4 separate regions of the Homo sapiens genome follow, and all the other regions are linked to region 2. The links are contacts of gene promoters, found by promoter capture Hi-C in blood cells and fetal thymus (Javierre and others, 2016). All regions are on one chromosome and are shown on one strand. The core of a region is centred on a gene start or on the middle of the fragment in contact, and the rest is flanking DNA. Distances in the headings are between cores, read along the strand shown. Region 1 has its middle 4.8 kb from the start of ARHGEF16. Region 2 holds the start of WRAP73 (WD repeat containing, antisense to TP73). Region 3 overlaps ARHGEF16 (Rho guanine nucleotide exchange factor 16). Region 4 overlaps LINC01134 (long intergenic non-protein coding RNA 1134).

Region 1 (2,700 bases), core at 56-2,555, 200 kb before region 2:
CCAAGGCGGGCAGATCACAAGGTCAAGAGTTCAAGACCAGCCTGGCCAAAATGGTGAAACCCCATCTCTACTAAAAAGATACAAAAATTAGCCAGGCATGGTGGTGTGTGCTTGTAGTCCCAGCTACTGGGGAGGCTGAGGCAGGAGGATCACTTGAACCCAAGAAGTGGAGGTTGCAGTGAGCTGAGATCGTGCCACTACACTCCAGTCTGGGCGACAGAGTGAGACTCCATTTAAAAAAAAAAAAAAAAAAGGAATGTTTTGAAGCACAGAAAAAAAGCCTCTCACATTTATTGACATATTTGCCATTTCCAGTGGGTTTCTACTCCTTGTGCAGACCTGAATTTATATCTGGTATCATTTTCCTTTCGCCTGAAAAAATTCCTGTGACATTTCTTATAGTGTGGGTCTACTGGTGATGAATTTTCTCAGCGTTTGCCTTAACATGTCTTTATTTTCCTTTCATTTTTGAAGGATATTTTCAAGAGAAATGGACATCTTGGTTGACAGTTTTGTTTTCTTTCAGCACTTTAAAGATGTTGTTGTAGTTCTCTCAGCTTTCAGTGTTTCTGATGACAAGCCAGCAGTTATTTTGGTCTTTATTCCCTTACGATTTTTCCCTCTGTCACTGGTTTTCAGCCATTTCATTATGAGGTACCTTGGTGTGGTCTGCTTTGTACGTATGCTGCCTTGACATCTTTGTACTTATTCTACTTCATTTTAAGGTCCTTGATTCTGTGGATCTATGAGTTTTTATTACATCTGAAAAATTTTCAGCCATTCTTCCTTTTTTTTTTTTTTTAATAAGACAGAGTCTTGGTCTGTCACCCAGGCTGGAGTACAGTGGTTCAATCACAGCTCACTGGAGCCTCGACCTCCCTGGGCTCAAGCAATCCTCCCACCTCAGCCTCCCAAGTAGCTGGGACTATAGGCATGCACCACCATGCCTGGCTAATTTTTGTACTTTTAGTAGAGACAGGGTTTCACCATGTTGCCCAGGCTTGTCTCGAACTTCTGGCCTCAAGTGATCCGCCCGCCTCAGTCATGCAAAGTTCTGGGATTACAGGCGTGAGCCACTGTACCCAGCCATTGCTTTAAACATATGTTCTTCCCTCCCCACTCCCTCCTTTCTGGTCCTCCAGTTACACATATTGTTAGACTGCCTGATGCCTGATACCGTCTCAAGGTGGGCAAGGCTCGGTTTCTGCCTTTTCCCTAGGTTTTTCCTCTGCGTGCTTCAGTCTGAGTAACTTGTCCTGGCTTCAAGTTTACTGATTGTTTTCCTCTGTAGTTTCATCTGCTGTTAATCTCATCCAATAGATTTTTTGTTTCCTACACTGTATATTTTCATCTTTAGGATTTCCATTTGATTCATTATTATACTTTCCATCTCTCCTTTGACTGTGATCATCGTTTCCTATAAATCCTTGGGTGGTGTGTGTGTATATATTATATATATGTGTGTGTGTGTATATGTGTGTCCGTGTGTGTCCGCGTGTGTGTGTGTGTGTGTGTGTGTGTATAGAGAGAGAGAGACAGGGTCTGGCTCTGTTGCCCAGGCTGGAGGGCAGTGGTGCGAGCTCAGCTCACTGCAGCCTCCAAATCCTGGGCTCAAGTGATCCTCCCACCCCAGTCTCCTGAGTAGCTCACCTAGCTAATTTTTTGTATTTTTTGTAGAGATGGGGTTTCACCACGTTGCCCAGGCTGGTCTTGAACTCCTGGACTCAAGCAACTCACCATCTCAGCCTTCCCAAGTGCTGGGATTACAGGCATGCGGCACCATGCCCAGCTGATCCTTTGGGGTATTTTTGATTGTTGTTTTAAATGCCTTCTCTGCGAATCCTGTCATCCGTGTCATTTCTGGGTCTGCTTCTACTGACTGATTTTTTTCCTAGTTATTTGTCACAGGTTCCTGTTCCTGCTTCTTCACATGTCTAGTAATTTTGCATTGGGTGCTGGAGGTCGTAAATGTGTAATTTTGCATTGGGTGCTGGAGGTCGTAAATGTGTAATTTTGCATTGGGTGCTGGAGGTCGTAAATGTGTAATTTTGCATTGGGTGCTGGAGGTTGTAAATGTGTAATTTTGCATTGGGTGCTGGAGGTCGTAAATGTCAAATTGTTTGAGTTTCTGGATTTTACTGGCCTTCTTTTCAAGCATGTTGAGTGTTATGCTGATGCACAGTTAACGTACTTGTGGATCAGCCTGGTCCTCTCAGGACTTGCTTTGAACTTCTGTTAGGTCATGTCTAGAGGAGCTGTCACCCTAGGATTACTTCAGCCCTTCACCTAGGACATGGCCTTCTTTGGTATCTACTGAATATTCTGGGTGGTCAGGATTTTTTCCCTCTGTCCCTGGTTTTCAGCCATTTCATTATGAGGTACTGTGGTGGGGTCTGCTTTGTACGTATGCTGCTTTGACTTCTTTGGACTTATTCTCCATTGCTTTGAGGTTCTTGGATCTGTGGATCTACAAGTTTTTATCACATTTGGAAATTTTTCAGACATTCTTTTTTTGAGACAGAGTCTTGGTACAGTGGCTGGAGTACACTGGCTCGATCATAGCTCACTGGAGACTCGTCCTCCCCAGGCTCAAGCGATCCTCCCACCTCAGACTCCCAAGCGGCTGAGGTCAACGAGGGATAGTCAGCGACGGTGCTTCCTTCCTGGTGGCTGACGTTCCAGCGTCCCCTGGCCTGGTAT
Region 2 (2,700 bases), core at 33-2,532:
GCACATTGAAAATATACCAAGGCTGAGATGCCATTTAAACTAATGAGGTTTTCTGTTTTGTAGCTGATGCTATTTTATGTGATTTGGAATAAAACCTCCCTGAAGAGGTAAAAAACGTAATTTGAGAGTTAAACTCTCAAAAGCTAGACAGAGCACAGGAATGTCAGGAGTGGCAAAACCTGAAAAAGCATCATGATACATCAGTCAGTTAGTACAGGTGGTGGATAAGGAAAACGAAGCCCACTTTTTACGAGGCATGTTTCTTCTTAGTGGCTTTCCAATGCCAATTGTCCCCCTCTTCTGAGGACATACATACTAGGCATCCGGGTTATCCCTCTCTTCTGAGGATATACACTACTAGGCATCCAGGTACATACACTATATGTTTTGAAGCTTAAAGTTATAGCTCTGTGATTTAAGCACCCTTCTGCCACCCATGGAACGAAGACCTCAAATCCCAGCCATGAGGACAACTACTTCCTTACCTGGGGATAGAATACTAGTATTTAAATCATTTATTCGGCATGTGGTAGAGGAGAAGAGAATTAGAGGAGAAGTAGAGATGACAAAGTAGCCACACCACTTACCAGTTTACAGGCAACAGAATCATCAATTTGCCTTTTGTGACAAAGTAACAACAAAGAGCCGACATCTCCTATACCCTCACCTGTGTGCAGTCGGCACTGCCGATACCCACCTTTCCAAGGGCACCTCCCCAGACCCCCCACCTGTCTACGGTATCTTCCTGGGTCCCGCACCTGCCCGGGCACCTGCCGGGGTCCTGCACCTGTCCGGCCCCCATATCTGCTTGGGGTACCTGCCTGGGCCCCGCACCTGCTTGGGGTACCTGCCTGGGCCCCGCACCTGCTTGGGGCACCTCCCCGGGCCCTCCACCTGTCTAGGGTATCTTCCTGGGTCCCGCACCTGTCTGGGGCACTTGCTCAGACACTGCACCTGCCCCGGGTACCTGCCCGGGCCCCGCACCTGTCCGGGCACCGCACCTGCAGGATCCCCAAGCTGCCTCCACCCACGCGGCCGCCCCCGGCCCTGCCCGCCGGGGACGCTGGCACCGAGGATGTCCTGCCCGTGGCCCAGGTCCCCGCCGCTCACCAGGTACTTGCCGTCCGGGGAGAACTTGCAGAGTAAGCTGGAGAGCTTGAATACCTCGGAGAAGTTCATGGCCGCCGCCTGCCGCGGGCGCCACCCTGCGCCCGAAAACCCGCGGGACCCCTGGGCGCGCAGCAGGCTGCAACAGCCGACGCCGGCCTCCGAGGCCGGAAGTCAGAAGGCGGAAGTGAACTGCAGCCTATCAGCGCCGCCGGCTTCCGCGCGGCATTGTGGGGCTTGTAGTTCTTGTGCCGCAGGGCTTTAAAGGAAACGCCCACGTTTCTTCCGACCAGGGATTTCCGACCCGAGAACCTTACCTCAAAGGCCGGGAGGCCTTTGAGCACCTCCAGCTAGGGCTGCTGATAAAAATGTAGAAAGCACAGTAAAATTTGAATTTCAGATTCACAACAAATCTAGTTATAAGTATGTTCCCAAATATTGCACGGGACATGCTAATACGGAAAAATTACTCGCTAGTCTGAAATTCAAATTTAATTGAGCGACCTGTGTGTCTGCGTGTGTGTACACATGCATATATATATATTTATATTTATATGTAAATGTATGTTTACATGTAAATATATGTTTACCTACAAATATATCTTTAATAAGTAATACGGTGTCTGTCGCACATATATTATATCGTGTATGTAATGTATAAGTATTTATTTCGTTTGCTTGGGGTTTTGTTTGCTTTTGCTGAGTCCGACCCCTCTACCTGCCGCCTGGCCCTTGCCTCACGCTCCAGTGCCACTGAGATCAAGGAGAGAACGAATTTGCCGCTGACTGGGCAGAGCGAGCGCGTGGATCGCGGCCACCGCCCGTTCATCACCCGCGCGCATCTGGGCTGGCACCGGGCGAAGAATCGTGCGGGTCTGGGACCTGGGGGCCCAGAGGGAGCGAGCTCCTGCGCGGGCGCTCGGTCCGCAGGTTTCGCAGGCTCAGGGGCGTGCCTCGTTCTCACCCCCACTCCGGACCCCGGTCCTCTTCCCTAGACAGCGGCCCCCTCCACCCCTGGCTCCCGCAGGCCGCTAGTAGTCCGCGCCAGGCCCCGCCGGCGCCTCTAGGGCCCCCCAGATCGCGCAGACCCTGACATCCCCGCCTGGCCCTGGGTTCTGGGAGCTGAGAGCCGGCCAGGGTCCTGCTCGTACCTCCGGGCGCCCAGCCTCGGGTCTGCTCCCCGCGGACGCCCCAACCTCCCCGGCCGAATGGATGGTGGTGCGCGCGCGTCCTACTCCGGCGGTGCCGGCCTTTTCTGTTGCCAAAACTAGACCCAAACCTCTGCATGGGATTCGTCTTTGGGTCCCCACCCCGTGCGCCCAGCAAACAGTGGGTGAGCCATGAAGATGTGCGAGTCAGCCGGACCCTCCCCGTCAGGCGCGGACCCGCTGCGGCCAGAGAACCCAGTCTGCGCCAGCCCGGCTCGCTCGCGAAGCCACGGGCTTCACTGACGCGACTTTCCAAGACGTGGGGGTCACCATGGGCAGAGGACATCGGTTCGGAGCCAGATCACGGGCCCCATAAGCATCAGACCATAAGCAGCGCCGCCACTGAGAGCCGCTCGGAACTCGCCCAGCATGTCGGGTCCCCTAG
Region 3 (2,700 bases), core at 143-2,642, 170 kb before region 2:
CCCAGGCCTTTCACGGCGCTGACAGGGAAACTGAGGCCCAGAGGTTCCCAGATTATCCATCCCAGGCCTTTCACGGCGCTGACAGGGAAACTGAGGCCCAGAGGTTCCCAGATTATCCATCCCAGGCCTTTCACGGCGCTGACAGGGAAACTGAGGCCCAGAGGTTCCCAGATTATCCATCCCAGGCCTTTCACAGCGCTGACAGGGAAACTGAGGCCCAGAGGTTCCCAGATTATCCATCCCAGGCCTTTCACAGCGCTGACAGGGAAACTGAGGCCCAGAGGTTCCCAGATTATCCATCCCAGGCCTTTCACAGCGCTGACAGGGAAACTGAGGCCCAGAGGTTCCCAGATTATCCATCCCAGGCCTTTCACAGCGCTGACAGGGAAACTGAGGCCCAGAGGTTCCCAGATTATCCATCCCAGGCCTTTCACAGCGCTGACAGGGAAACTGAGGCCCAGAGGTTCCCAGATTATCCATCCCAGGCCTTTCACAGCGCTGACAGGGAAACTGAGGCCCAGAGGTTCCCAGATTATCCATCCCAAGCCTTTCACAGTGCTGACAGGGAAACTGAGGCCTAGAGCCAGTGGAGCTCTCACACAGTTGATGAGCCCGTGGCACGGCTGGTCCAGGGCAGGCACTGTGGGCAGCCAGAGGCTGGCTGGGCAGGTGTCCTGGGCACACTGTGGGCCGTGTGGGCTGTGCCAGGGCCCTGTAGCACCAGCCTCTCACACGGGAACCATGCCCTGCAGCTGGTGAGGCAGTGCAACGAGGGGGCCCACAGGATGGAGCGCATGGAGCAGATGTACACGCTGCACACACAGCTGGACTTCAGCAAGGTCAAGGTAGGTGGCCCCGGACATCAGGGCCACTCGGACCACTTCCCACTCAGCCCTCCCTGCTGGCCTGCGTGTGAGGTCACACCCCTGAGCCTGAGGGCTGGAGAGTGGGTGCCTGCCCTCATGAGGCCTGGGGGCTGGGCCTCCTAGGGCTGGTGGCTCTGGTCTCTCCAGGCCTCAGTCTCCCGATCTGGGAGCGCCCCTTGTGGACCCCTCCCCTAATCCCACTGGGTGGGCCTCTGTGGCCCTTGCCCCATCCCCAGGACTGCACCGGCAAAGGGTAGACCCTAGGCCCTGAGTGACCAAGCCCAGGGGGCAACAGGAGTGGCCCTGTCAGTGCACTTGCCTGGGGCCAGCGCTCCTTGCTGGCCCCTCAGGGGCTGGGCAGGGCCTGAGGACAGAGCGGAGGGGACAGGGTGATTTCAGGGCCAGCCCAGATTCCATGTTTCCCAGTGAGGCTTGGATTCTGGGTAGGGTGAAATATTTCCAGCCCAGGCCCGGGCAGCCCTAGTCCCTGCCACAAACGGGCAGGGCTCATACCTCTCCCTCCAGAGCCCCCCACCCACGATCCCACACACTGGCCGCATCCTCTGTTGTCCTGGGACAGCCCAGGGCCCCTCCCCTAAGGCGGGCCCAGGTGGGTCTCCTGTCCTGGTGCCCCATCCAGGGGGTGTCCTTCAGGGTGGAGCAAGAAGTGGGTGACAGGCCACCAGCCACCCTCACTCAGGGCCACGGACAACCAAGTAAGGGTGCGGGGTCCCAGCTGGGGGAGGGGGCTCCCGGGGTGGGTCAGGGCGGGCTGCCTGGGGCAGGCGTCAGGGCGGTGACTTCGCGCCGCTGTCGCTGAGCCCACACCCGTGCAGCCCTCACGCTTGTCTCCCTGATCCTCTCGAGTCTGGGGTGTAACGCCTGCCCCTGCCAGAGCAAGGACCCCCTCCCAGGCCTGGTCCACCCCTGAGTGGGGCTCTCACCCCCACATGGTCTTGAAGTTGGTCTTGGAAACGGGTGTGGGGGTGGGGAGAACAGGCCCATCCAGGAGGGAGGGTGGTGGCAGAGGCCGGGAGCGGGAGGTGCCGGGGGCTCTGAGTCTGTAGTGGGCACAGGTGGGGAAGCCGGGGCCCACAGGGAGCAGGTGAGGAGGTGTCAACAGTCGCTGAGGAGCGGGAGCTGGTGGGCAGGCTCCTCATTCCCACTCTGCCCTCCCCCCCACCCTGTACTGCCACCCCCTACTGCGACACCCATCCCCGTCACCCCCACACTACCCACCCCATCACCCCCACACTGCCCACCCTCTGGCCTTTGCCATCCTTCTGCCCCCCACTGACTCCAGCAACTCAGCACCAGGCAGCAGGGAGGATGTTCTGTGGCTCAGGAGCCAGGAAAGGCCCCAGACGTGGAGCGTGGCCATCACGGGTGGGCCTGCCCCTGCCAACCCTCCCTCGGGGCTGAGCAGGTCCTTGTGCCTAGGAGGCCCAGCGTCTGCGTAATTGCCACGGAGGGGTGAGGTGTGTGTGGAGGCTTCCCCAGCACTGGCCTTCGAGTCCTGGCTTGGGTGAAATGTTCAGTGGTCACCCAGCCCTGGGCTATCGGGCAGGGTCTGGTCCGGCCTGGCGCACCTCGATTTGAGGCCCGGACACATTGTGCCCCTTTCCTCTGTCCAGCCCCGACTGAGGGCAGCCAGCTGGTCACCCAGTCCAGAGGCAGGAGTCAGTCCCACCTGGTGCTATGCGTCCTTGACCCCCTGGGGACCTGCTCACCCCGGCTCTGTCCCCCCCAGTCCCTCGCACTGATCTCCGCCTCCCGGCTCTGTCCCCCCAGTCCCTCCCACTGATCTCTGCCTCCCGGTGGCTGCTGAAGCGCG
Region 4 (2,700 bases), core at 68-2,567, 250 kb after region 2:
GGTAATTAGGTGGAGCCCTCAAATTAGACTGCACGTGGGGTTTTGCTTTCGGCAGTGAGTGAAGATGCTTGCAGCCCTGGTGTACACACACACACACATGTCCTACCTGGCTGTTGTACCCTCTCTCTTCCTAGCCCTGCGCTTCTCCCGTGTTATTATCCATGTTGTACAGAAGGGGAGGAGACAAATGTGTAACTGGCAGGAAATGCGTTTGAAATGGAAACTTAATATAATCGCTGCCAGCTGTTCAGAAAAAAATGAGAGCGAGCGATACTTTGTTAAACACCTAGCCTGTCCCATTTTCGCAGAGATTGATTTCATAATAAGCTTGGTTCAGTGGTTTTATTTCCCAGTCCTTGGGAGCTCAAAGTTTTCATCCACTGGGGCTTGGCTGGTGTTTGCCTGTCTTGTTTGTGGTTGGTGCCAGTTGATGTAAATGCCTCACTGCCTGGCCTCGCCCGCCCGATGGGGGCTCTGGGCTCCGAGCCATGTGGACTTTTAACATCCCAAAGGGCACTCTCCTTCCCTTCACCAATGTTGTCTGTCCTCTCCCCAGGTCTGGGATGAGCATGGTTTCCAGCCTCCCAGCTGTAAGGCCTGACACCCAGGCCATTGGTGAATGTCTCTCTCTCCCTGCCCACATCCTGTCAGATGCCGGTTGCTGTTAATTCTAGACTTTGAAGCCTCACGGCTGGTCTCTCCTTTTCCTCTGGCCTGGGCAGCCCACAGCTGTTGGGGTGATCCCCTGCTTCTGGGATCCAGAGCCACAGTCTTAGAGTGGCCTGTAAGTCCTGGCATGGTGCCTGGCACACTGTGGGTGCCCAGCAGGTGTTTGTCCAATGAATGTGCGGAAGGGCTTCTGAGCTTGCTCACCGTTGCCGCTCCCTGCTCCAGCCGCACAGAGTCCCAGCACCTGTTCCCCTGCCCCTCTGCTATCCACAGTGCCTCCCTCAGCTCCTGACCACTGCAAAGCCTCTTCCCCACTTCCCTGTGCCTGAAAACCTTCTTTCCCCAGCTCCCCAACCCACGTTTTGCCTGGCTAATCCATTTGTTAAACCTCAACTCAGCTTATATCTCCTGTCCTCAGGGGGCCCTTCCTGGATGCTCCCCCGCCCCCTACATTCAATCTGCCGGTTGCTGCTTTTTTAGTGTTCTGCACTCTTCTACCAGGACCCCGTGGCAGGCCAGGACCGTTTCTCCGGTGCTATCCCAGAGCATGGCGCATCCACTCATTCACTCAAGGTATCAAGCTCCACTGTGTTCTGGGGACTGGGCCAGGCGCAAGCCCAGGCATGGAATCATCACACAGAATTGTACGTTTGCAGTGTGATGGGAGCCACGGGGGAGAGGCCACATGGGCAACAGCACAGAGCTGGGGGTGTCGGGTGAGGATCCTGGGAGGAAGTGGCTGGGGCCCCCTCTCCCTCCCTCATCCTGTAGGATGCAGGCCCCTTTCAGGCCCACCCGGGGGAAACAGAGCCTCCTAGTCAAGGCTGGATGTGCAGTGGAGCCCTGTCTGGACAGGCTACCCCTCCTGACGAGGTGGGAGGTGTTGGCGTGGGCAGAGGAGCCAATCTTGAATTCTCTCCCCCGCTCCACCTCAAGCTGCCATGTGGAATTGCAGGAGACCCTGGAGGGAGCAGAAAACCAGGCTCGGCCGAAGCCACCTCCACACCACGGTTTCCTGGGTTCCCCAAAACCAGGCTTGGCCGAAGCCACCTCCACACCACAGCTTCCCGGGTTCGCTGTGTCTGCTTCTGTTCTTATTCCTGATTAGCTGTGCCCCCACCCGGCCAGGTCAGGGCACAGTGAGACTCCCCATGGTGGCAGGCGTGTGAAGTCTGTGCAGGCTTGTACGTGGCTGGCCCCCCACCTGAACTGTACGCCCCTGGAAGGCAGGGTCCGTGTTTTGTTCACGGAGGCTGGTGATACCCAGAGGACATTGGCTGGCTGGCTGGCTGGCCGGGGGCGAGACGCACACAGAGAACTTGAGGATTGTGGATTGGAGGAAACTTTGCATTCTTGCCCATACCACAAATTTCTGACTTAAAACACTGCTGTGCCCCAGTTCAGTATTTGCCTTTGACAAACACTGTAGGGCCAGTGAGAAAGTTGAAGAGATTTTTCAACTGACTAGCAGTCGGTAGACCCGTTAACTGAGGCCACCCCGGCCAGAGCACATTGCATTCCTGCCAACAGATGGTGGCCTGTATGATGACAGGGCCTCTCTTGCATATGGCCTTTTATAATTAAAAGAAAGAAGTAATAGGTAGAAAGAGAGAGAGAGAGGGAGAAGGCAGGGGAAAAAAAGCTTGCAGCATGCTTTTAAAATGTCATCGCACCACTGCACTCCAGCCTGGGTGACAGAGTGAAACTTTGTCAAAAAAAAAAAAAAAGTTCTCTTTGAATTGACCTAAACTAATGTTTTCTTAATAGCCCACCCTCTCCTATCCTCTCGGTCCACCCGACTTAGCTGGGCAAAAATAACCCTGTGGTAGGACAGCCGTCTGCTGTTGGAAAGTATCGCAGCTCCTCCCGTGTCTGCCCCGTGCACATGTGCCAAGGTCCTGCCTTGAATGAAGGACACAGCGGAGAAGGATGTAGGCTCTGAGCCTGCTAGGGTGCCTGAGAGACTCACAGGACTACCCCTGGGGCAGTTGGAAGATGCCCAGAAACTTCAGGGAGCCACCAGCATGGGGC

Evidence for each region. The method cuts DNA at HindIII sites, captures the fragments that hold promoters and counts their contacts. A CHiCAGO score of 5 or more calls a contact.
Region 1: a contact is called between a fragment that was not itself captured here and the fragment with the promoter of WRAP73 in region 2, in 6 of 17 cell types (naive CD4 T cells, non-activated CD4 T cells, naive CD8 T cells and 3 more). The highest score is 7.8, in naive CD4 T cells.
Region 3: a contact is called between a fragment that was not itself captured here and the fragment with the promoter of WRAP73 in region 2, in 1 of 17 cell types (neutrophils). The highest score is 5.0, in neutrophils.
Region 4: a fragment that was not itself captured here is called in contact with the fragment with the promoter of WRAP73 in region 2 in 1 of 17 cell types (neutrophils); the score reaches 11.8 in neutrophils.

Annotation. Positions count from the first base shown.
Region 1 is chr1:3,448,518-3,451,217 of GRCh38, forward strand. No RefSeq gene overlaps it. Among named protein-coding and RNA genes, the nearest start is that of ARHGEF16, 4.8 kb to the right of the region's middle. The HindIII fragment of the contact is 5,295 bases long and covers 1-2,700 here.
Region 2 is chr1:3,648,821-3,651,520 of GRCh38, forward strand. It overlaps WRAP73 (WD repeat containing, antisense to TP73), which reads right to left and starts at 1,283. Exons shown (of 12, transcript NM_017818.4): 1 at 1,111-1,283. The coding sequence starts at 1,179. RefSeq lists an enhancer at 1,504-2,347. The HindIII fragment of the contact is 11,564 bases long and covers 392-2,700 here.
Region 3 is chr1:3,475,218-3,477,917 of GRCh38, forward strand. It overlaps ARHGEF16 (Rho guanine nucleotide exchange factor 16), which reads left to right. Exons shown (of 15, transcript NM_014448.4): 10 at 753-845; 11 at 2,658-2,700. Among named protein-coding and RNA genes, the nearest start is that of ARHGEF16, 22 kb to the left of the region's middle. The HindIII fragment of the contact is 4,576 bases long and covers 1-2,700 here.
Region 4 is chr1:3,902,795-3,905,494 of GRCh38, forward strand. LINC01134 (long intergenic non-protein coding RNA 1134) reads left to right here. Exons shown (of 4, transcript NR_024455.1): 2 at 1,171-1,242. Among named protein-coding and RNA genes, the nearest start is that of LINC01134, 3.7 kb to the left of the region's middle. The HindIII fragment of the contact is 1,984 bases long and covers 326-2,309 here.